Regions from separate parts of the Homo sapiens genome. Here all the other regions are linked to region 1. The links are contacts of gene promoters, found by promoter capture Hi-C in blood cells and fetal thymus (Javierre and others, 2016). All regions are on one chromosome and are shown on one strand. Each heading gives the region's core, a stretch centred on a gene start or on the middle of the fragment in contact. The rest is flanking DNA. Distances are from core to core; before and after follow the strand shown. Region 1 holds the start of FSTL4 (follistatin like 4). Region 2 overlaps HSPA4 (heat shock protein family A (Hsp70) member 4). Region 3 overlaps LOC105379182 (a long non-coding RNA gene). Region 4 holds the start of WSPAR (Wnt signaling pathway activating non-coding RNA). Region 5 has its middle 30 kb from the start of WSPAR.

Region 1 (4,885 bases), core at 1,359-3,858:
GATGCAGATACTTTTGGTTGGATCTGGAGAAAGTGCCTTGCTTCCTCCTGATTCCCATGGCTATGTGTCATCTCTGAGTATCCTGATATGCAGGTGTAATCTGAAATGTCCTAAGAGACACACATCATTTGGCAGTAGTTTTTCATTATATTGTTGTGTTTTTGGTAAGGATTAGAAATAGAAAAAAGATTTTAAACCAGCAACGTAAAAAAATATTTGGGTTGCTTAAACTTTTTGATCTTGTAAAAGTATATTAATAATGTTTTTATGTGTGTCTCTGGCTGAACCACTCACCAAAAACAGAGTGGGGCTGGGGGGCAGTAACTGGAATTTATGTTTCCTTTTAGCTCCCCTATTCCAAGCTTATTGAATTACATGAAGTTCAAAACTTAACCATTATTTCCCCTAAGAATCCTAGTTGGCTATTGAGAATCAGTATGCTTGCAAGTTCTGAAACAGGGTTTCAGGCAAATTTTGAAATTCTCAGTGTGAAATCTAGCCTATTTTCCAATTTGGGGTGTACTATTAAACAAAAAATTACACTGAGAGGTAAAAGCACAGAGCAATTCAAAGAGGTGTCAAGGTTACTGGCATCTGATGCTGCTTCCCTGGAGCCTTGTTTTATTTTGTCATTCACACTTCACCTTTCTCATTCCGAGGTGACTTTTAATTTCACTCTTATTTTATGCACAGTAGTTAAACAGCTCACTTCAGATGTTAGCATTCTCTCTAAGGAATATTCCATACATCTGGTTTGCAGCAACTACCTTCTTCTCCTTCTTTGGGAAGCGTGTAGAAGTTCAGTGCCTGTTCACTGCATTAAACAGAGCTATTTCTGATCTTGGTCAACCTATAGACCCTGATTTACATATGACCTTGAGTTACTAAAAAACAAAAAATACACAAAGTCCTGCTTTGATTATGTAATAAGGCCACTAGGTTGACTCAGGGACTTTGTGATCAGAGCTGAGAATAGAAATCTGCTTTTCCAAATACCTCATGTCTTAGAGGAGAGCCGAATCCAGCCTCTAAGCCATGGTGTACGTTCCTGACCACAGACTTAGAATTACATTTCAGAGGGAGGCACAGCACATTTCCAAACTTCCCTGCTTCCTTTTATACTCATTTTCTCTTTTCTGTTTCCCAAGATGAAAAGTGCCATCCCTTCCCCAGTCCTGCCATGGAGAATCTGGCCCCTAGCCAGCCCCAGAAGTTCAGTCATGGTGGCCTTGGCAAAGATTCATAGTCAAATCTGAGAGAGGATCACACTGGCTAGGGCCCAGGGTCACTGAGGATGTAGTAGCCTTTATCCTTCTGAGTAAAAATCATGGTATCCACATGGGAAGTCAACCAGGTTTTGTCCAACCCCTCATTTTACAAGTGGGGAAACTGATACCTACAGTAGAGATACGATTGGCTCTGCATTACATAGCTTGGCAGTGATAGAGGGAGAGCTGGACCCCAGACCAAAACTGTGTGATGCCAAGACCGCGCTGGCCCATTCACTGCTGTATCTCTAGCAACTATTAATAGCACAGTGCCTGCTGCATTGGAGGGGTTCAGCGGCAGGAAAATCTGTGGAAGGAAAAAACAAACGTAATATCTCTTTCTTCAGGTCAGCCTTCCATTATTCTTCCCCTTTTCCTTATATTTAACTAACTTCATCCTCAGAAAAATCCCCTCTGTCACCTCCCCCCGGCCAGGAGAGATTACAGAGGCATGGACAGAACACTGTTCACCTAAGCCAGGAAGGCCCCTGGTGCCCACGCAGCCAGAGCAGGAGGCAGGCCCTCAGAAAGTCTCCTGGCCATCAGCCTGGCCTGGGTAGGGGCTCCCTCCTAAGTTTCCTGCCAGACTGAGGCTACGTATGACCATTTATGGGCCCCTAGTTGTTACAAAGGTGTTTCCAGTTCATTCGGGAAGGAAGACTGATCTCAAAAGCTGCTGATGTTAAAGAGGGATTCAGAAAAGTTTGGGAGCCCCAGGCTTGGGGATGGGATCAGGATGGGGAAATATCCTGTTCTAAGGGAGAAGGGACCCTCTGGGCCCAGCTAGGTCAGGTAGGCAAATGTCACTTGGGATTGCCCCTGTATGCCCTGAATGTCTTAAGATTCTGTAGTTGGAAGAGGGAAGATTCAGAAAAGAGAAAACCTTTGCTGTTTCCCAGGTTGTTGGGTCTCAACGGCGGGGGATTTCACCCACTTTGTCCCCAGGGACAGCTCTCCTGCTGTGGTGTACCGGCCCGCCTGGACTCCACGAGCAATGGCCGCGGATTCAGAGACCCCCTGTGCGCCTGGAGAGCACAGCTTTGGGGAACCTGGCCCGGAAAGGAGCCTGGAGGAGAGCAGAGGTGAAGAGGGGCTGTCACTTGCCGAGCTCCACGCTAGCCAGAGGCAGGAGCGCTACGCTGGCCCTCCTCCCTCCGGGCCCTAGATGGCCCCAGCGCTCCGGAGTCATCGCGCCCCGCGTGCGCGCCCGCCTGCTCCGCGCACCTGCCGTGGCCGCCGCGCGGGTCTGACCGGCTGGCGGGCGGGCGGCGCGCACAGGTGGCGGCGATTGGGCAGGCGGGGCCCAGAGGGTGACGTCACGGGCTCCGGTCCCGGCGGCAGAAATAGGGCAGCCGCGGCGGCGGTGGCACAGCAGCGGGCAGCGGCGGCTCAGGGAGCTGGAGCCTCAACAGCCTCCAGCGAGCCCGGGACCCGCCGACAGCCCGAGAAACCAGCCGAAGGACGCGGGGCGGGGTCGCCGCCGCCGCCACGGGGTGCTCCCTCCCTCCCGCCCAAGTCCGGCCACCTGGTCTTCCCCTCGGCCCCGGCCGTCTCAGGTACGCGGGCGCAGCTCCCAGCGGGCGCGGGGAGGGTGCCATGTCGCTGGCGCCGCCACCAGCCGGTCCCGCTGCACCCCACTGGGGTCCTGGCGCCCGCGGCCCCGCATCTTGCTGCAGGGCCCGGCGCGGGCGCTTGCTTGTCCTTACTGCCCGCGCCGGGAAAGCCAAGTTTGCCCGCGGGGAAGGGACCGCTGGGCCAGGGCTCGGCAGGGCTACCCCGGCCAAGGCCAGGACTCGAGGAGAGGCTGGGACGCCGAGGCTCGTGGCCGGGGTCTACGGTGGGGACCGGAGTGACCCGGTTGGCACGCGGGGCGCCACGCAGAAGCGCTCGGGCCGAGCCCGCAGCTCGCGCCCGGCTCCGAAATCCTGCAGGCGCCGTTCTTGGGTTCAGGACCCCGAGCGGCCCCGGCGGAGCCAGGCGAGCGCGGCCCCTCGGCCCGGGCCCGGTGCCCTTGGCTCCGGGTTGGGGCGCCGGGCAGGCATTCTCAGCACCTCCTCCCCGCGGCTTTGCGGGGAAACTTGCGTCTCCTCGCTGCAGCCCAAAGGGCCCGCTGCGCTTCGCCTGGCCCTGGCTTCCCCGGGGTCCGCCGCATGTGAGGCTGGGGAGGAAGGAATCAGGGCACGACCCGACTCCAGGCAGCCTGCGGCGCTGCTTGTGCGTAGCCGGCCGCGGTCCAGAGTGAGCGGCCCGGGGTACCCGCTTGAACGTGTCTAGGGAGCAGTGTGTTGGGGGCGTTCAGCGTTCGGGCTGGGGGCTTGGTCCTAAGAGAGCTTGCACTGTGGATGATCTCCGCCCTCTTTGCGCCCGCAAAACAAAGACGAGTTCTGAGTTTCAGGAGGGACCTGGACGAGGCAGGCACAGCACTCTGCTTTCGGCGCCTGTCGCCTCGAGTTTGGGGACGAGCTGACGCTAGTCTTTGGGGCTCCCTGCAGCCGACAAAGCGGCGCCAACCCCAGGCCTGCCACCTGAGGACTTTGTGCCCGCAACTCTTGCGGGAGCGGAAAGCCGCCGAGGCAGTGGGGTTTCTTGTTTTCCAGAGCGCGGCGAGCCTCCGCGCGGCGCGGCAAGTGCACTAGGAGTGCGCGGGTCAGCGGGGCGGGCCCGGCGAGGTCGGTGTCGCGGCTCGAGAGCGGGTGCCGGGGCGCTGTCCAGCAGCCCTCGCTCGCGGCCGCGGGCCGCCGACACTGATGAATGGCGCGGCCACAGCCCGCCGCTCCCCTCTAGGTGTCGCTTCCGCCGAGCTTTCCTCCAGTGAAAAACAGCGCCGGCAGCTTGGTCTGTTACCTTCGTAAATTTGTTGCAAGCCTGTGCACCAGGAATTGTACTAGATGGGGCCCCCGAGATACAAACATCCGTCCAGGTTCTCTGGGCCAAACGTAAACAGAATTTCAATAGGTGGTGAAGTAACTGCCAGCCAAAATGTTCACCGGGAATGGGCCTGTGTCACAATCTGTGAGGGGAAAAGACGGATCAGTGAGCGACTAGGACTCTTCTTGAAAGTCCTAAGTTATTTTCCTACTGCCAAATTTAGGGGAAACCAGCGATGCTTTTTAATAGTGTCTTCTTAATCCTGGGAGCCAGGCGCCAGTTTCTGTGCCTGCCCCTCTGGCCCCCAGGACAGACTCTGGGTCTGGTTGGCGGGGGGTCCACCTGGGAAGGGAATGGTCGGAGGTGTGAGTGATGCAGCTTCTGAGACTCCAGAGCCACAGCAACTCTCAGGCAGGAGCTCAAGCCGGACATACGAGCAGATGCCCTACAGGGCACGTGTCTGCTTCCCATCTTAGCGTTGTGAGAAGGAGGCACTGCAGCATCACTAGACCATTTCTGCCATACTCTGCTAAATGTTCGCTTTTTCCCTCCCATCCTAGGAAAAAAAGGCACCACCCTCTCCAAAGACTTCAGACTGAGCCAAAGTTCACATAAGAAAATAGTCCACTTTGATGTAATGTATTTAAATTGCTCGTTAGAGTTGTCCTAGTGCTTTTTTCTCTCTTAGACTTTTATGATCATCCTCAATTTTTGTTGATTCTAGGAAAGCTCTTTTTCTTCTGGAAAAG
Region 2 (4,885 bases), core at 1,199-3,698, 500 kb after region 1:
TCTTTCCTCATCCCCAAAAATGGAAGGTCTGATGACTTCAAAAAGAGTTTTACCGTTTTTCCCCTCATTGAAAATAATAGAAAACAGTAAAATACTGCATTTCTGCCTTCAAGTATTCACTGAGCGCCTTCTCCATTCCCTGCTTCTTGCCGGGCTGCACGGAGGCAGCTGTAACCCAGGCAGAGTCCCTCCTTCAGTTGTGGGATGTAGAAGACAAGGACAGGACCAGTCACAGAGGAAAGACCTTCACTCATGCTGCGGCCTCCTTTACCACTGCATGGGCCCTTTCAACTTTCCTAACCCAGACAGCTCACCGGCTCCTCATGGCAGCCTTACACGGGTCCTACAAAGCTCCCCACTGGCACTCCTGAAAGGTACCCTATAACTGGAACCATCCTTTTGTGGAATATATACTGACCCAGCTCATCCTTAGAAATCCTTTGCTGGGATTTACATCCTGGAAGCTGGGCCACTGACTGGTCTTCCAAGACCATCTGTTTCCAGCTTTCTCTTCTGCAAGCATTAGCTGAGTCTAATTTAAATAATAGATATTTTAAAATACATTTTAAAGTTCATGTAGAAAAAAAAATGGGAGACCTCCAGTATGTGGTGAGTAAAGGTCTGCTTACTTGTGATAAAGTACTTGCAGTGCTTTCTCTCCCTCAACTGATCCAGGACTCCAAATCTAATAGTCCATCTCGCCCTTGAAGGATGTAAACCCAGACACACTAGTGAACAGGCCCGATAAAAACACAGCTTTCTGTAGTCTTTTCTGTGTTGTGTTTGAAGCTGGCGAATGCCACTTACGAAGGGAGAGTAAAGAGTCTCTACTCACCCTGTCCTAATGACGTGTGCTGAAACTGGAGGAATAAGGTCAGGATTAGCCTGGCACTTGCCCATGGATATTGAGCAAATCTGGAAAGCATTCTGTATTTTTTTAAATACTCTGAGGTCTTTCCTTCCCTGATCCTCCAGAAATTTACACCCTCCTTTATCTTTCCAGATGTGTTGCTTGTACCTCAACTTGGCCATTTTCCCTATTTGCCTCCTAGACTGATGCTTAAGAAGTCACCTCTTTAGTTTCTACACTTCTTGCAATATCTGCTCAAAATAGCAGTTCACAAAAACAGTGGCATTCCAGGTTAGAGGGTCATGGCCCAGGGCTGCCCCAGCCAAAGCCAAGTACATCCAAGGAATGTACTGGCAACTCCAAGATTCCCAATGGTCTCAAGTAAGTGGTGGGAACCATCCCCATTTACACACAGGACACTGCCCAACCTCCTTTCTCGCAGACTGATGCCTCATTTCAGAGGCCAAGCTTCTTTTTTTTTTTTTTTTTTTGCTTTTTTTTTTTTATTTTTTTTTTTTATTTTTTTTTTTTTAATTTATTTTTTTATTGATAATTCTTGGGTGTTTCTCACAGAGGGGGATTTGGCAGGGTCATGGGACAATAGTGGAGGGAAGGTCAGCAGATAAACAAGTGAACAAAGGTCTCTGGTTTTCCTAGGCAGAGGACCCTGCGGCCTTCCGCAGTGTTTGTGTCCCTGATTACTTGAGATTAGGGATTGGTGATGACTCTTAACGAGCATGCTGCCTTCAAGCATCTGTTTAACAAAGCACATCTTGCACCGCCCTTAATCCATTTAACCCTGAGTGGACACAGCACATGTTTCAGAGAGCACAGGGTTGGGGGTAAGGTCACAGATCAACAGGATCCCAAGGCAGAGGAATTTTTCTTAGTGCAGAACAAAATGAAAAGTCTCCCATGTCTGCTTCTTTCTACACAGACACGGCAACCATCCGATTTCTCAATCTTTTCCCCACCTTTCCCGCCTTTCTATTCCACAAAGCCGCCATTGTCATCCTGGCCCGTTCTCAATGAGCTGTTGGGCACACCTCCCAGACGGGGTGGTGGCCGGGCAGAGGGGCTCCTCACTTCCCAGTAGGGGCGGCCGGGCAGAGGCGCCCCTCACCTCCCGGACAGGGCGGCTGGCTGGGCGGGGGGGCTGACCCCCCCACCTCCCTCCCGGACGGGGCGGCTGGCCGGGCAGAGGGGCTCCTCACTTCCCAGTAGGGGCGGCCGGGCAGAGGCGCCCCTCACCTCCCGGACAGGGCGGCTGGCTGGGCGGGGGGGCTGACCCCCCCACCTCCCTCCCGGACGGGGCGGCTGGCCGGGCAGAGGGGCTCCTCACTTCCCAGTAGGGGCGGCCGGGCAGAGGCGCCCCTCACCTCCCGGACAGGGCAGCTGGCTGGGCGGGGGGGCTGACCCCCCCCACCTCCCTCCCGGACGGGGCGGCTGGCCGGGCGGGGGGCCGACCCCCCCACCTCCCTCCCGGACGGGGCGGCTGAGGCCAAGCTTCTTGACCAAGTACTCAGCACCTGCAGCCTCACCTCAAGCCCCTTCACCCCACCCAGCTCCCACCCTACTGAAGCATCTAACCCTGCTGGCCACTGCCACATCTCACATCTCTAGCTCCCTTCCTCCCAACATGCTTTATGCATCATAACTCCTCTCTGGCAGTTCCTTCTTTCAAAGCTTTTACTTCCTCTTCCTAACACATCTCAACACAAGCCTTCATCCCGTCAATGAGGAACACGACTCCAGCCCCAAAAGCTTCCATCCACACCCACCTGGAGCTTCGATGTCTCAACCCCACCCAGGAAAACTTCTCAATCTAAACTCCCACCACATCTCCAATGACTCAAGACTAGAAGCTCCACATGTACAATCATATCCCGTATTCTAGGTTTGAAACCTTGGAGCCATTCTTCTTAAAACACACTTCTAGTTTTCTTAACATTATAAAATTCCTAAATGCTTTTATTAGTGACAGGAGGCGGTGGGGGGTAGGGGCTTGTCTCCCCATGTTGCCCAGGCTGGTCTTGAACTCCTGGACCCAAGAGATCCTCCCACTTTGGCTGGGATTACAGGCATGAGCCACCATGCCTGGCCCTAAATGCTTATTGTAGCAAACTCTGAAAACAGAAACAAGCAAAAATAAACAATCACCCACAATCCCACCCTAAAAACCACTTCATCTGGGAAAATCCTTCTGGCTTTTTTATTGCAAACCCATTTAATGTTCTTTCAAAACATGAGAGGCTATGTAGTTTTATAACCTACATTGTGTGTGTAAAAATGTAGGCCAGGCATGGTGGCTCACACCTGTAATCCTGGCACTTTGGGAGGCCAAGGTGGGCAGATCACAAGGTCAGGAGTTCGAGACCAGCCTGGCCAATACAGTGAAACCCTGTCTCTACTAAAAATACAAAAATTAGCAGTGCGTGGTGGCGCACGCCTCCAGTCCGTTACTCGGGAGGCTGAGGCAGAAGAATCACTTGAACCCGGGAGGCAGAGGTTGCAGTAAACCAAGATCCCGCCACTGCACTGCAGCCTGGGTGACAAAGCGAGACTCCATCTCAAAAAAAAAAAAAAAAAATACACACCTTTCTGTTAAAGCCACTTAAAATTATTGAAATAGATCAAGTGTACATGAGTACACTATCAAGTCAGATCAAAAAACAAGCATCACCAAGCCTCACATCATGTTGTCACTACTCCACAAAGAGTAACTACTATCCCAACTTCTAAAGCATGGTTTTCAGCTGGAACCATGCTTACATCTTCCCTCTTCCTGCAGGTACCAAAACCAGCAATTTTCCCCTTCATTTGGCTGTCCCCTCAAAGGTGGACTAAGTCCCACTACCTCCAACAACCCCCAGGCCCCCTGTGCCCCTGCAAAGCAGCTCCCACTGCCCCACAACAGAACCCTGATCTCTCAGGCCCCCACCTTTTAAGGAGACAGGGTATCACTTTATCACCCAGGCTGGAGTTGCAATAGCACAATCTCAGTTCACTGCAGCTTTGACCACCTGGGCTCAAGTGATCCTCCTGCCTCAGCCCCCCAAGTATCTGGAATCACAGGTGCACACCACCACACCCAGCTATCTCAGCTCTTTCTACCACATCTAACAATTCCCCTACAGAAACCACTTACATGCTCAGGAGGAAACCAAACCTACTAGACACACGTTTCTCAGACACGTGGCTACAATAGGCCCTGGGTAGGCCCTGGCAGGTAAGCTGCTCCTACAGCCAGAGGACTAGGACTGTGCAAGGGGCATGACCCAGGGAACAAGACCCCTGACCCCTCCTCGTCTAGACCCATGCCTTATCCAGTTAAGGTCTTTTTCACTGGCTTAGTGCCCTTTAAACACCCATCACCACCACATACATACACCAACACACATTCCACGCAGCCACACCACACATCCAGTGGCGCCAACTATTCTAGCACACTCTGGACCGCGCTGTTCTTTGGCCAGGTGTAAGTCCTAGCACTTACCTTTATGCCATAACCCCCGCCTTCTGCTAACAAAACCCTCAAAGTAAGGCCCAGTCACAGGAGCAAGACAAGGATTCCTAACACCAAAGGAACTGGGCCAAGACTCAACTGGAGAGTTTGAGTACAGAAAAATTAGGCAACATTTTCTCACAAAGTAGGCAGTGTGCTTCAGCTGTCACTCTTCAGACTGGAAGTCTTCAACGGATGTTAAGTGAAATTTAGCTCAGAGGGTTCCTACTCCTAGAGAACATTTTTATTGAAAACACACCCCCCGCCCCCACCCCACACACACATACACACAGACACACACACATACACACACACCCCCACACACACACCCAGCAGCCTTCATTATGGAATTAAGGAAACCATTCAAGTTTAAGACAGGTTTATTTTATTAGTTTTTCCTAAACTTGTCTCATGTTTACTGAATGATTTTCTTAGTGTAAGAACGTGACCTGGAGCTTTAACAAATCAGTTTGGATAACGCAACCTGGATAAATGCTTGTCTGTACACAAGCCATCAATTACCACTCTCT
Region 3 (4,885 bases), core at 1,003-3,502, 330 kb before region 1:
AGAGTTTGATTCTTTCCTTCCAGCTCTCCTGGCACAGCCAGAGGAGGGTTTTGTGTGATTGGCCCTTGAAACATTATTACAATCACTTTGTGGCCTCCTTCAGCTTATTTTTAATTACAAGGTCTATTGCATTTTTAAATTATTAACTCTGACAATTACTTATCTTGGCATTTTCTTATCTCGATGAAAATGAAAACAGCAAGGTCATGTTAGCTCACTTGAGGTTTCGGTCTGCTGCAGCTTAAATTGAGCTGAATAGATCAGCAAATGTTTGCAGTGCGGGGACCAGCTGAGGTTGCAGAGGGTCTGCTCAGGGAACACGGGCAGAAAGAACTTGGCAACACAGAGGCTAGTTCAAGGGCGTTTGGGGCCCAGGTGATCGGAGCCCGTCTGTGGAAGTGGGAGGTGCCCTTGTAGGTGATGATGGCCCATAAGCAGCTTCTTCCCCTCAAGAGCTCTGCGTACATCTCCCCTGGGATAGACAGCCAGAGGCAGAGCCCAGAAGGCGATAGCGACCCTCTGCCTCACAGTAACTTCTTTCTCTGATCTTCTGTGGTGGTCCTCACTCTATGACAACAACAGCAACTAAACGATAACAATAAGTGACTGTTACTGAGTGCTTACTGTGTGTCTAATACCTTGCCCACGACACTTGGCAAATATCCATGGATGCTGGGCACTGCAGGCCCTCATCGCCATGCTGCCTTCTGTCCAGCAGGGGGTAGTGTGACTACACCATAAAGGGGACCTCCTTCTTTACCTGGGTTCTCAGGAAAAAGCATCTTCGAGTTTCTGCTGGATGCTGGAAGGATGCTTCTGGCAGTAAGTCCAAATCTCCGACAGTGAGGGCAAAAGAAAGCATGATTATCGGCCAGGCGCGGTGGCTCACGCCTGTAATCTCAGCACTTTGGGAGGCTGAGGTGGGTGGATCACCTGAGGTCAGGAGTTCGAGACCAGCCTGACCAACATGGTGAAATCCTGTCTCTACTAAAAATACAAAAATTAGCCAGGTGTGGTGGAGCATGCCTGTAATCCCAGCTACTTGGGAGGCTAAGGCAGGAGAATTGGTTGAACCTGGGAGGCAGAGGTTGCAGTGAGCTGAGATCATACCACTGCACTCTAGCCTGGGCGACAGTGCAAGACTCCGTCTCAAAAAATAAATAAATAAATAAATAAATAAAAATAAATAAAATAAAAATAAATTAAGAAGAAAAGAAAGTACGATTGTCATAACTCCCCCAATCTCAGGGCACCTGCAGGTCCATTAGTCCCAACCTGAAGTCCTTTGTTGTTCAGTCCCCAGCTCCACTGACTCCTCCAAGGGCAAAGGGCAGGCATGAACTTGGAGAAATGGCTTCGGCCTCAGTGGACAATGCTGGTACCACGGTAGGGTCCTTGGCAACATGCCTCCTTAGAGATACACAGACGGTTCCTCAACCTGAGAGCCATTTGGTGGGAAGTACAGATGGGGTGCACCCATCCCCAGATGTGTTATATGCATTAGCTAATGGGCACTGCTGTTGAGAGACTGCTTGGCCATTTGGGGCAGCTGGCTCAGAAGGCACGTCCCTCGGATGTCTGCAGCTTCTCAGCCAGAAACCCGTGAAAAAGTTCCATCTTTCCCATAGGCTGGGAGCCAGTCACACCCTGGGTATAATGCCGAAGGAGAAGGGAGCAAGACTGCTGGTGGGACATGGTTGTCCCACAGCAAGACTGTTGGTGGGACAGGGCTCCGACTGCCCTGGCCCTCTGCAGAGCCTCCTGAGTAGGTAAGGTAGTGGCTGGCTCTCTGCTCTGGATGATTTCTGTTGACCCAGTTCTGGGAGTGGTTTCATGGCTTGGGGAAGAGCCAAGAACTTCACAGAAAGGACTACACAGAAATTCGTGACAGCCCCAGGGCCTGCTTGGGACTCTGAGGGCTGAATTTTTTTTTTTTAAATCTTGGGGAGAGAGTTTTGGTTATGGTCCCCAGCAAAGACAGCCTGGGAGATTTCTTCTACCAGCCTCCGTGAGGAGTTCAGATCCTGGGTCCCTCAGCACAGTCCACATCTGAGGCTGTAGCTGTGATGAACTTAAAAATCAATGCTGCCGCCCAACCCCTTGGCTTCAGAAGTGCCCTTGGTTCAAATGTTCAAAGCAGCCCTGAGTTATCTTCGCGGCTTCTCCAAATTCCTCCACTACTCTAGGCCCCGAGGAAGGAAAATGTTAATCCATCTCAGACTGCCAACTCCCCCAACCCCAACCCCAACCCCAACCACCCTCCTTCTGCTAGGCTGGAAACTTTGCAAACTGGAAAATGTCTGTGTGCTGGAGGCCAATGCCCCTGCTCCAGGCCTCTTGCTCCCCGACCCCAGGCCTCATCCCAAATCCAGTCCTCCCTGTAAAGTTCCAAAGCTCAAAAAGCTGCTTGCCTGTGTGCAGGCGGGCACGCGATGGTGGTGGGAAAGCACAGATGCATCTGTGGGCCTCTCCTCTGGAGAGATTTGCCTTTCACTGCCTGAGATGCAGCTGAGGAGGAAATGTTCCCTGATTCCTGACCTGGTAGATCAGCTGGGGCCATTGTGTGCTCTGGTTTATAATATTAATAGGAATACTAATAATACCTGCCATTTCTTGAGCACTTTAACTAGGTTCTTCACCAGGGTTGTTCAATTTAATTATCACAAGAGCCCTATGAGGTAGATGCTATATAGAATATAGTATATATAAAATAATATAACTTTTTTTTTGAGATGGAGTTTTGCTCTTGTTGCTCAGGTTGGAGTGCAATGGTATGATCTCGGCTCACTGCAACCTCCACCTCCTGGGTTCAAGCAGTTCTCCTGCCTCAGCCTCCCAGGTTGCTGGGATTACCAGCATAACTGGCTAATTTTGTATTTTTTGTAGAGACGGGGTTTCACCATGTTGGTCAGGCTGGTCTCAAACTCCTGACCTCAGGTGATCCACCTGCCTTGGTCTCCCAAAGTGCTGGGATTACAGGTGTGAGCCACTGCGCCTGGCCACTTTTCTTTTTTCTTTTTCTTTCTTTCTTTCTTTTTTTTTTTTTTTTTTTGAGATACTGTCTCATTCTATCACCCAGGCTGGAGTGTAGTGGTGTGATAACTGCTCACTGTAGCCTTGACCTCCTGGGCTCAAGTGATCCTCCTGCCTCAGCCCCCTTTAGTAGAGATAAGGTTTCGCTATGTTGCCCAGGCTAGGCTTGAACTCCTGAGCTCAAGCGATCTGCCCGCCTCAGCCTCCCAAAGTGTCAGGGTTACAGGCCGTGTTTTCCGAGATTCACCTGAAGACTCTAAACATGAGACAGAGGGGGTAGATGGGAAGAGAAGAAAGGGGAGGAGAGGAAGGGAAGAGACAGGGTAGGGGGTACAGAGACACACACACACACACACACACACACACACACAGAGCGAGAGAGAGAGAGGTGTGAGGCACATTTGGAGCCAACTGTGCTTCTACCAGTAGTAAGACCACTGATGCATAAGTAAGTGTTTCTTACAGATATGGGCCACGTGGGGCAAAGGGCTGGCCTCATAAACCTGCCCAGAAGGGAAAGGTGACCCTGAAGACAGATGGACCCCCAAATTCCTGGAGATTGAGGGAGGAAAGCAGCAGCCACACAGAGGAACCTGCAGCCAAGTGTTCCATTTGGGGTTCCCAAAGAATCCACAAAGCACCCATGAGGGGAGAGTTCAGGCCAGAGAAAACCCGCCTTAAATGTTAGTTGTGAGCAAAAAAAGGCAATGCTGGGTGACACCGGTAACAGTCAAATAATACCGTTCCTGCCCTCCTCCTTTTCCCACTGCACACATACCCAGTGTGGGAATCAGAATGTCTTGATGGAGGGGCACTTTGGTGGTAGCTGCTTTATCTGGAGCCTCTAGGATTGAAGTGGGTGGACAGCACACTGAACCATCCTGACAAGCACGATCTGTGGCCAGAAGCCAACTTCGGCCCCCACAATGCAGTCATGGTCCCCCCTTCACTTTCCCAGACCTAAGCCGGTTCACGTCCTGGAACCACGTGATCAACACGGTTCTTGGCCTTCTTGAGAAAGAAATCTGCAAAATGCCACAAATACATCCATATATATACTGCAAAACTACTCCTAAGCCTTGACCACTGGGATCTGCAGACACTGGATCTGAGGAATGAGGAAACAGGCAGTCCTTTTAGGGGCCGCTAGACACTAGATTTTAATTTTTGCTAATTCCTGGGAACTCAAACTACCCCCTTGGTCTACTAGTCAAAGGAAAGGTTTATGGTGGTGAGCTGATAAATGGAGTTTTGACCAAACTTCATCTCACACTGGGCCCATGGACTCACTCTTGTGATACTTCCTTAGTCTCTAGGTATCTAATTGGAATAGACATACTCTGCAATTGACAGAATCATCACATTAGCTCCCTGACCTATAGACTGAGAGCTATTATGAATTTTCCTCTTCCTGCAAGGATAGTAAGCTAAAAACAATATTGCATCCTTGGCAGGGGGTGGGGGGAGGATTTTAGAGAATAGCATCAAAATACAGGGATCCTGGAATCAAGAAGGTAAAAGTGAGCAAAGCTTCCTTCACTACTATACCTAATAACACACTCATAATTTTTGCTTCCTGACTTTGCAACTTTGGACTCAGCTAGTTTGGAAGTCTTGGTTTTCAAGGGAGAAACCAGGAAACACAACAATGACACCACAGAATTGGAAGTTTAGACTGCTACCTAGCCTCTAATGTTAGGCTGCTAACAGGCACAGATGGTGTTTACCATTTGTATTAGTTTTCGCATTGCTATATAGAAATACCTGAGGTCGGGTGCAGTGGCTTACGCCTGTAATCTCAGCACTTTGGGAGGCTGAGGTGGGTGGATCACCTGAGGTCAGGAGTTCGAGA
Region 4 (4,885 bases), core at 694-3,193, 300 kb before region 1:
CCCGGGAGCCCCAGCAAGAGCAAGTCAGCATGACCAGGGTTACATGCGGCAGAGCAAGAGACACGGAGTGGCCCATGCAAGGTCACCAAGCTTGTCTGGGCCTGAGTGTGGGCAGTGGCCTCTATACCCAAGGCCTGGCCCCAAGAAGCCAAAGCCCAGCCTGAGAGGGGCTTGGGCACCACCAGGCCCTGGCCAAGCATTTCCAGGCCTAGGATTAGATTTGACCTCCTTCCCTGTAGGGGAAGAAGGATATCAGCTGAAGAAGCCTGGGGACAAATATAGTTTCTCATCAGGTCATGGGCAGGACACCAAAAATCCTAAGTCAGGTCACATTTTAAATGCACGAAGGAAGTTATGCTCAAAGTCCAGCTGAATCCTTCCCCAAGGTAAAAGATCCTTTTGTTATGTGAATAATTTATCTCTAAAGTATCAGATTTCTGTGAACTGGGTTTTCTGAAACTGAGCAAAAAAACACAGGAGTTAAAAGCATGGACCTTGGAATCGAACCCCCTGGATTCCAGACTCTGCCTTCCCACAGGTGACTCACGTGCTTAATCCTCAGTTTCCCCCTCTATAAAATGGGGATTATATAACTCTACCTTATAGAGAGATTATGAGGGCCATATAAGATAATGCTTACCTTAGTGGCTGGCATATAACCAACAATGTTGGCTAGCTGTTATCATTACCAATTGTTAATTTATTAACCAGACAACCGGCCAAAATTGTACAGGAGTTAGCTCAGGTCCAAGGACTCCTAGAGGTCACTCAGGCTATACTAAAACCTGGAAGAAGTCCTCCTGGCACGATGGCCACAAGCTTGGGTTCCTGGTGGGATGGGGATGTCAGAACAGGAGAGGGGAGCTTAGGCTTGGGAGGGTGTCTGGGGCTGGTCTAGGCATCATCCATCACCAAGAAGAATCCCAAACGTAGATCTTATCCAAAGTTCAGCCAGGATGGAGACTTTGTCATGCTATTTAATCTCCTTGTAGTGTTAGTTTCCTTGTCTGTCAGATGAGGATAGTAATGTCCACCTCCCAGCGTGGTGACGACAGAATGGAATTTAGTGTAGAAGTTCTTTGCCCAGGGATTGGCATTAAGTACTCTGAGGTAGCTGCTCTAGGTGCTGACCTGAATCTTAACTCTCCCTGAGGGGTTAAGAGATGGTGGCTGCCACCAGGAGCAGTGACGCTGTAGTGTCCTGACATCCTTCACCAGGTCCAGGGCCCGTCTGGCCATTCCCATCTCCACATTCCAGGTCAGGAGTGGCGAATTCTTGTTGGAGAGTCCTCCTGCTGGGGTGAGTGGACTCCTGGCTCCAGGCGCTCCCTGCTGCAGAGTTCCCTCTCTCTGGAGCAGTTCAGTATGTTCCTGCTTGGAATTCACAGCGGGCTGCCTCTGCTCCCCCACCGCATTATTTTTCGAAGCAATGATCCAATGAAGCAATTACTATTCCAATCGGGATGGAGATCTCTGCAACCCACAGCCAAGCATGGCCTCTGTGGCGTCTGTTACTCTCCTTATCTCTCCCCGGGCCTCCAAAGACCATCTCCATTTTCATGCCCATGGACGATTTATAACAGCTGCAACAGCAAGGCCAGGATCCCCTCTGAGCAGAAACTTTTCTTAAGAAAAGGGGTTCCGCATTACCCCACGCATCTTTGTGAAGAAGCCTTTGATTCCACCTGTCCTGTTTGGATTCTGAGTGTTTTTTCTTCTTTGGAAAGTAAACTTAATTACAATTACGTTTTGGCTGGGCCTGGTGGCTCACGCCTGTAATCCCAGCACTTTGGGAGGCCGAGGCAGGCAGATCACAAGGTCAGGAGATCGAGACCATCCTGGCTAACATGGTGAAACCCCGTCTCTACTAAAAATACAAAAAATTAGCCGGGCATGGTGGTGGGCACCTGTAGTCCCAGCTACTCGGGAGGCTGAGGCAGGAGAATGGTGTGAACCTGGGAGGCAGAGCTTACAGTGAGCCAAGTTTGCGCCACTGCATTCCAGCCTGGGCAACAGAGCAGGACTCCTTCTCAAAAAAAAATTTTTCATTTTTCATTTTTTGAGACAAGGTTTTTCTATGTTGCCCAGGCTGGAGTACAGTGGCACCACCATGGCTTACTGCACCCTCGACCTCCTGGGCTTAAGCGACCCTCCCACGTCAGCCACCTGAGTAGCTGGGATGACAGGCACATGCCACCATACTCGCTTAATTTTTAAAAACTTTTTGTGGAGACAAGGTTTCACTATGTTGCCCAGGCTGGTTTCGAACTCCTCGGCTCAAGAGATTCTCCCACCTGGACCTCCCAAAGTTCTAGGGTTACAGACATGAGCCACCATGCCTGGCCTTACATTTTTTTTGAGACGGAGTTTCACTCTTGTTGCCCAAGCTGGAGTGCAGTGGCGCAATCTCAGCTCACTGCAACCTCCGCCTCCCGGGTTCAAGCGATTCTCCTGCCTCAGCCTCCTGAGTAGCTGGGATTACAGGCGTGCACCACCATGCCTGGCTAATTTTTTGTATTTTTAGTAGGAACAGCATTTTACCATGTTAGCCAGGCTGGTCTCGAACTCCTGACCTCAGGTGACCTGTCTGCCTTGGCCTCCCAAAGTGCTGGGGTTACAGACATGAGCCACCGCACCTGGCCTACATTTTATTGATAAACAAATTATGGCTACAGAGTTTAATTGTGGAACAGCAGTTCTACAGTGCTTGATTGGACATTGTTGGTATATGAAATTACTGCTCCAAGGTACCCTCTAGCACAAATAATTCCAGAGTGGAAGGAAGTAAGATGGGGTAGCCCCCAGAGTTGCTTCATATCTGATTGATGGTGTACAGACCTGGCCATGCGGATCCACATTCCATCTTACATGGCAGAGGTGGATCCCCAGCCTGGAACTGTGAAGAACAGGGACAGGCAGCATCCCAACCATGGGGAGCATTTAACTCCAGCCATGGGATCTTTGCACTTTGAAACAAGCAGTGTGGGCAGGGCGATGCTTGACCCTCTCTATGAAACCTTCCACTCTCACTCCTTCATCCCCTAGAAGTGTCCCTCCAAGAAGCTTAGCTGGCTTGGGCTCTAACCGGCCCTCCTTGACCCCTACCTCCCCTGGAAGCCTTTTCTGGTTAAAACCACTGGGACGACTATGCCTGGTCCACTCTTCTGTCTGGCTGCTCAGTGAGTTCTAGTTCCCCAGTGTTGTATGCCCCTGTAGTCCATGGGCCTCGGCCATTTCTGTAATGAACGTGGACCAACCTAGGACATGGGTAGCAGAGTCCTTGCTCCCCCCTGCGCAGGTATGTGAGCAGATATTCTTGAGCTTCATAAGAGGTTGAAAATCTATGCATCTCGGGTTTCCCAGTTCCGAGGCATTGAGTGCACATGTTGGTGGTTCTTGATTCAAGAAATTGCACCCAGGGTGCCCTTTCACAGGGAGGACAATTGGAGTTCATGCCTGGCCCCTTCAGACTGTGGTGAGGCACTCTGGCAGTGATAAAATTCCTGACTGTAATGCTATTGCTGTCTTATATCCTCTTCTTGCAATAAACCGTAGACTTGTAAGCACTGTCATTTTGGTCCTGTGTGTCTTGTTTAGCCATTGAGCCCTGTCTAACTGCCACCGCAGGTCACTTTTGCTGGGGAAGGGGGGTCTTGGAGGGACCATTTCCTGACATGCTGCAGAACTTCTCCCAGCAGCCCCGCCTGAAGCCGTCTCAATTGCCTGCCGAGTAGGACACAGTGTACACCTGGGCTTACAGGCAACTCCCAAGCCCTCTGGTTAGGATACCCAACTTTTCCCAAAGGGCCCAGCTTCAGAGCTGTCAAGACAATGAGGTGTTTTTGAATACCAACGCCTGGCGTCCCTGCAGGAGGACTCGGAACTGCACTCTCCCAAATCAGAAGCAATGGCAGTGTGACTGTCATCACATTTGTTATTCTCTGCCTGCATTTACATAACATTTCTGCAAAGTGCTTTATAATCATTTCATTAGTCATTCATTTGCTTGATTGCATAGCCTTCAATTCAGTTAGAAAATCTGATTTGAAATTCAAGTCTCCACTACCACAAGTTTTAATTCAGAAAAACTTTCTCCCCCACAGAATTTGGAAACATTTCCAAATTTTGAGTGAGCCCCATCTCACCAACAATGACCGGTTCTGGAGTACAAAGTGAAAGACAAATTTAAAAGAGGCTGCAATGGTGGCCTGGTTCTAAGATCTAATTTAGAAAGGCAGAGAAACCCTGCCCAGCGGTTGAAACATGAAGAGTGCTAGAGAAAGCACTGAGGGTGGCAATTAGACAGGGTTCGATGGATAAAGAAGATGCACAGGACCCAAATGACAGTGCTTACACATTTATGGTTTATTGCAAGAAGAGGATATAAGACAGCAATAGCATTACAGTCAGGAATTGTATCACTGCCAGAATGCCTCATTGCAGTCTGAAGAGGCCGGGCGTGAACTCTGATTGTCCTCCCTGTGAAAGAGCATCCTGGCTGCAATTTCTTGAATCAAGAACCACTGACATGAGAACGGAATGCCCCAGAACCGGGAAACCCGAAATGCAGTCTTGGCCGGGGCTTCTGATATCCTGCTGGTCACATATGCCTATTTCTTGTCAGGGTACCACACCAATGGAAGTGCCCTTTGGGGGCCTCATTGAGACCAGGTGCAAGTCATCAATCTCGCTGTTATCAATAAACAATGCATCAAGCTGGTACAAACTGCCCTGCAGCTCCATGGCCGGAAAACAACACTGTTAATCCATAAGTTTCTCAACCTGACCAGGGCTCAGCACTGTGTAGGTACAGCCCTTATTTTAGTAAGACAGCCCAGATGAATTCCAGGCCTGCTAGAAGTAACCCTCACAGCTCAGTTCCGGG
Region 5 (4,885 bases), core at 1,764-4,263, 270 kb before region 1:
GAATACATTGTGGGAAGGCAGAGGCACACAGAGGGAGAGAGACAGTGGTGGTTTGGACCGACCATGGTGGCCGTGAGGGTGAAGTCTGCCTCAAGAGATCACTGGGTCTGACTTCCTCTGTTTTAGATGGGGAAATTGACTGAGGGGGCATAAGGGGAAACCCTTGTCAAGCTCTCCCTAGGGGCTGGTGGCTGGATGGAACCCCAGATCCGGCCTCTGGCCTCGCACACCATTGCCCAAGGCCTTTCCCTTGGGTGGCTTTTCTTCCACACCTGGTCTCGATTGGACCCTCACTTTGGAGGATAGGGGGTGTGGCCCGAAGACCAAGTCCACTCTGTTGCCCTCGCCTCCCCCCAGCTCCTCCTCCTCACAATGAGGCACCCTCCTCCCCCGTCAGCTCCCCCCGCTTTTCCCTCCCTCCTTTCTCTGCCTCCTCTTCTTCATCTTCCTCCTCCTATTTCTCCTCCCCCTTGTCCTGGTTGAAGAAGGAGTTGAGGCCAATTTGAGGGTAGCCTGTTGCTGAAGTCTGGGTGTACGGGGTGGTAATTGGTGTCCACCAGCTGTCTGGGCCCTGTCGTTGGGGGATGAGGAGGAGAGGCCTTGGGTGGCTTTCCTGCCCCAGGTTCTGACTCACAGGGAAGCGGGGGGACATCTGATTTTCTATGGTGGGGAATCCCTGGAACAAGGACTGCCTTGGGGCAAGTCTTCTGCAAGCTGAGGAGGCCATCTTGGAGGAACGCCTGTGACTGTGACCTTCAGAGGGCTCCATTTGTTGGGCTATGTAGTAAGTAATGTCATTAAGATGAATGTGTGTTTTGGTAAAGGGTGTAAATATATGAATAGTGTCCTCTCCAGCCCCATATATCACCCTGTGTTTATTCAGTGCCTGGTGCATAAGCTAGAAGGCACACATTGCTATTTGGGGCTGTGAGTTTTACAGTACATTAAAGGAGTTTACTGAAAACTCTTGGCAAACAGATAAAATACAATTACTCTCATTCCCAAGGCATTGCAGTCAGAATGTTCTGAAAACCTGCAGTGTAATAATTCACAGGAAGCCGTGGCAGGCAGCCTTTGAGGCATCAGAAGCGCTGCTTTTGTAAACTTCAGAGGCAGCCAAGAGTTGTCCCTCGGGAGACCCTCGTCCTGTGTTTTATTAACCTCCCTGTTTCTGGCTGAGGAGCTGCAGGGGGAGTCTAGCCGGCAGGGCTGGCTCCTGCCCTCGTGAGCTTTTCTAGGGTCATGGTGTGGGGGAGGAGGAGATGAGACCTCCTGTGTTCTGTGCATGCCTCCCTGTCCATGTGACCTTCAGCAGCAGGTTCTGCTAGTCAGTCACCTGGCATGATGGGGAATTCTGACTCCCCATGAAGTGTCGTCCAGGACTCTTAGCCCTTCCTGAGAAATGGGTGTTTTTGGTGGGATACGTGGAAGAAGGATAATAGGGATCAGAATAATTCCTGGTACAGAGGTGGAGTTGTCACCCCATGGAGCTGGGGCAAGATCCCACAGGTGCTCTGGCCTGCCCTGCTTCACCCTACTTGCCGGGGAGATGAGCATGCAGACTCTAGGCACCACTGAGCAAGCAGTAACCTGTGTCACAATGGGTGCTAGCGCTGCTGTCCGGAGCCCAGGGAGATCCAGGATGGTCCTGGGGAGGAGAGTTGGTAAACAGTAGATGGCTTAGCTTCTGGGCCTCTTTGCAGTTTGAGGTGGATGACAGTCAGAGAGCCAGAACTTTGAGGGCCTCGGCCCCTTCTCCTGGAGCAGAGGGAGCAGAGGATGGGCTTTCCTTGAGCAAGCCTCCTCCCTGGATGCCAGTCCTGAAGCTGAGGGTGGGCCCACTCCCTACAAGTTGGGCTGGGTCTGCTATGCTGAAGGCCACGGGTAGGCCCAGAGCATTTGTGGGAGGTGAGCAAGGGGTCTCTAGCCAGTGATGCATAGAGTGGGCAGAGGTGGCTGGAGGGCAGGGGCAGCCCAGTCCCTTCGATGAAGGCCTCTGCATCAACCAGCATCTGTGACCAAGTTCTCAGAGCAGAACACATCCTTGTGGGAGAAGCATCTTGAACAAACCAGAGACATTGCAGCAGCCAAACCCAAATCAGTTGCATGAGCTAAAATGCTGGGGGTCTGAGGTGTCAGGTGGGATGAAAGTCTGGAGGGAGAGATTTCTGGACACCACTGTCTACCTGCACTGATAGTTGACTGTGACACGGCACTCACTTGTGTCACAAAAATACAATAATAACGAATATCTGCCCAAAATGGTTGTGCTTGGAATTTACAAAGCATGCACTTCCGGGTGCCAGGATTGCTGGTAAAGGGCCAGAGGGAGTGTGCTCCCTGCGGCTGCCTCAGTGGGGTGGTTCGTGTGCTGTCCCTTAGGGAGGCAGTCCCAGGGCTTTCAGCCGGAGTCTGACTTTGATGTCTCTCAACTTGGTGGCTTGTTTTCTTCTTTTAAAGGCTGTACATGAGGTTTCCAGCTGCAAATGAGCATTGTCTGGTCCTGGTGCTTAGCACACACAGCCTCATAGCTAGGTGTTGTGCTTGGAGTCCAGGCCAGTCAGGGTTCTCCCTTGGTGCGGGGATTGGGAACACTCCAGGTGACCCACATGGACTCCACCTGGACTTTCTTTCAGTCCCAGGCTCATCGGGAAATTGATAGCTTTGGCTGAGATTTAATTGCTTGGATAGAATAATATAAAGTCTCTCAAGGGAGATCCAGAAATTAGACCTGCTTAGCTTCCTGGACTGACCCCTTCTCAGCCACAGCGGCTGTTTGAAAGCACCCTCTTCCACCACCAGTGAGACTGCGTAAGTGGTGGTGTTTAAAGTAGTTCGACGTTCGAAGGGGCTGCTTATTAATCCAGCATTAGTCACGGTAGTTAAGCTTTTAGAGATAATGAAATGTAAATGTGCCTCCAGGACATGCCGCGTTTCCTGAAACTGAACACATTCGTGAAGAAAAATGGTTGCGGTAAGATTATGAAGAGTATTAATTGTATGGATTTACATACTCTACAGATGGCAATGCAGATGCTGGGGACAGCCAGGAGCCATGCCAGAAGCAGGCAGAAAGAGGGGCCGGCCTTTCTCTGCCCTTCCTGTAGAGGATGCTGCCTCAACTAGATACCAAAGCTTTTCTGCTGGAGTTTGTTTGTGTGTGTGTGTTTTATTTTTATTTTTAAGAGACAGGGTCTTGTTATGTTGCCCAAGCAGTCCTTAAACTCCTGGGCTCAAGCAGTCCTCCTGCCTTGGCCTCCCACTGGAGTTTTATGAGTGGAGAAACAGAGGGTCAGAAAGTTTAGAAAACCTGTCCAGGGCCACACAGGAAGGAGAGGCAGAGCTGGGCCACAGGCCTGGGCAGCCTGATTAGGCACTGGCTTCACCAGCTGCCCGCAGAGCGGCTCCCAGGGTGCCCTGTCCATCTGTGTCCCCGGTGGGGGCTTCAGCGCATCACTCGGCATCTATCCTGACCACTTCTCTCCTCTACAGCCCTCTTCCACCAGGACAGTGACGCTTAAAGTCAGAAGAGCCAGTGATGATGATTTTTAATCAACAGGTGTTAATTACAGAGCACCTGTGCATGCCAGGCACCATGCCAGGCTTCAGGTTCTGTTCATCTTGGAGCTGACATCCCAGCAGTCAACAAATCACCACCAAGTAGATGCGCAGCCACCACGTGCGAGAAGGGCTGGGCAGGCAAAAGAAGGAGAGTGATGCGAGATTAGAAGTGATGGTAATGATAACAACAGCTGACACTGGTTATTCGCTGCGTGCCCCACACAATTCAAAACATTTAGAGGGGACGACATTGTCCTTTTATCTTCATAGCAACTCTATGGATTAGCTTTGCTTTAAGACGAGGATACAGGTAGAGAGCGATTAAGCAGCTTATCCACGGTCCACAAGCAGGTGAGCAACAGACCGGGATTTGAACCAGGAAGTCTGACTCCAGATCCCCTGCTGTCCAGCACTGTGTGTTATTGCCTCTTACAGAAGAAAAGTAAACTAGGATTACTCAGGAAGCAGGGAAGCCTTGGCAGCGGAGGGCATGCTCACACTGGACCTGGGAAGTAGTTGGCCATGTGCAGGCGGCAGGGAGAGGGGAGTTCCAGGAGGGGAGCTGGGAGTGGGGGAAACCACAAGAAGGGAAGAGCTGGGTGCCTTGAGGGAGCTAACGGCTTCCTTGGGGCTGAGGCTGGGAGGCCAGGCCAGTGGGGTACAGCTCACCTTCACGGAGGCCCCTGGGGCTGTTGAGCTGTGAGTCCTTATCCTAAAAGCCACAGGAGGCTGGGCCAGATTTCTGAGCAGGGAAATGGCAAGAGTGATCATTCTTTCTGAGGAAATTCCTCAGTGAGGGGATGAGCCCTGCCCCCACTTCTGTGCCCCCATCAGCTTGGGAAATTGACATTTGGTATTTGGGGAGGGCATTGAAGTCAAGGGCAGTCTGGGTGCAGCACAAGCATCTGTTGGCTTGCACAGTCCGTTTCCAGACTTTGAAGAGGGAGGGAAGAGCCTGGCCACATCACCTTCCGAGGTGGTGTGGTGTGCAGGAAGGATGAGAGACCAGCCAGCCCTAGAGCTGTGTGTGTATGTGTGTGTGTGTGTGTGTGTGTGTGTGTGTGTGTGTATGTGTGACGCCTTCTGAGACAGGACAATTGGTGAATGCATTAGCATTGGCATGCACATTAATCTTTGAGGGAACTGCAGCCCAGCCATGGCTTATTGGAAAGATTATAGCCCCGAGGAAAGACACACATTGGTTAGTAATGACCTGAAGTTTATGAGTCCCAGGACCACTGACTCTTAGTGGGGAACGACTATTTGTAGTACAGAAGGAAGTGCCCCTTGGTGTTGAAAAGGAAAAGGCTACAGTGCATAACTT

The links. The method cuts DNA at HindIII sites, captures the fragments that hold promoters and counts their contacts. A CHiCAGO score of 5 or more calls a contact.
Region 2: a contact is called between a fragment that was not itself captured here and the fragment with the promoter of FSTL4 in region 1, in 2 of 17 cell types (total CD4 T cells and M0 macrophages). The highest score is 6.7, in total CD4 T cells.
Region 3: a contact is called between a fragment that was not itself captured here and the fragment with the promoter of FSTL4 in region 1, in 3 of 17 cell types (endothelial precursors, M1 macrophages and M0 macrophages). The highest score is 9.5, in endothelial precursors.
Region 4: a fragment that was not itself captured here is called in contact with the fragment with the promoter of FSTL4 in region 1 in 2 of 17 cell types (endothelial precursors and M1 macrophages); the score reaches 5.4 in endothelial precursors.
Region 5: a contact is called between a fragment that was not itself captured here and the fragment with the promoter of FSTL4 in region 1, in 1 of 17 cell types (M1 macrophages). The highest score is 6.1, in M1 macrophages.

The regions. Positions count from the first base shown.
Region 1 is chr5:133,610,264-133,615,148 of GRCh38, reverse strand. FSTL4 (follistatin like 4) reads left to right here and starts at 2,608. Exons shown (of 16, transcript NM_015082.2): 1 at 2,608-2,824. RefSeq lists a silencer at 3,877-3,926. The HindIII fragment of the contact is 11,171 bases long and covers 365-4,885 here.
Region 2 is chr5:133,106,282-133,111,166 of GRCh38, reverse strand. HSPA4 (heat shock protein family A (Hsp70) member 4) reads right to left here. Exons shown (of 19, transcript NM_002154.4): 19 at 4,718-4,885. LOC105379178 (a long non-coding RNA gene) reads left to right here. Exons shown (of 3, transcript XR_948792.2): 3 at 1-99. Among named protein-coding and RNA genes, the nearest start is that of HSPA4, 57 kb to the right of the region's middle. RefSeq lists an enhancer at 2,601-2,650. The HindIII fragment of the contact is 180 bases long and covers 2,359-2,538 here.
Region 3 is chr5:133,940,278-133,945,162 of GRCh38, reverse strand. All of the region lies in intron 3 of LOC105379182 (a long non-coding RNA gene), which reads left to right. Among named protein-coding and RNA genes, the nearest start is that of C5orf15, 26 kb to the left of the region's middle. The HindIII fragment of the contact is 4,627 bases long and covers 1-4,565 here.
Region 4 is chr5:133,909,752-133,914,636 of GRCh38, reverse strand. WSPAR (Wnt signaling pathway activating non-coding RNA) reads right to left here and starts at 960. Exons shown (of 3, transcript NR_131252.1): 1 at 641-960. The HindIII fragment of the contact is 2,244 bases long and covers 822-3,065 here.
Region 5 is chr5:133,881,020-133,885,904 of GRCh38, reverse strand. No RefSeq gene overlaps it. Among named protein-coding and RNA genes, the nearest start is that of WSPAR, 30 kb to the left of the region's middle. RefSeq lists a silencer at 741-941 and enhancers at 1,286-1,785, 1,786-2,287. The HindIII fragment of the contact is 248 bases long and covers 2,890-3,137 here.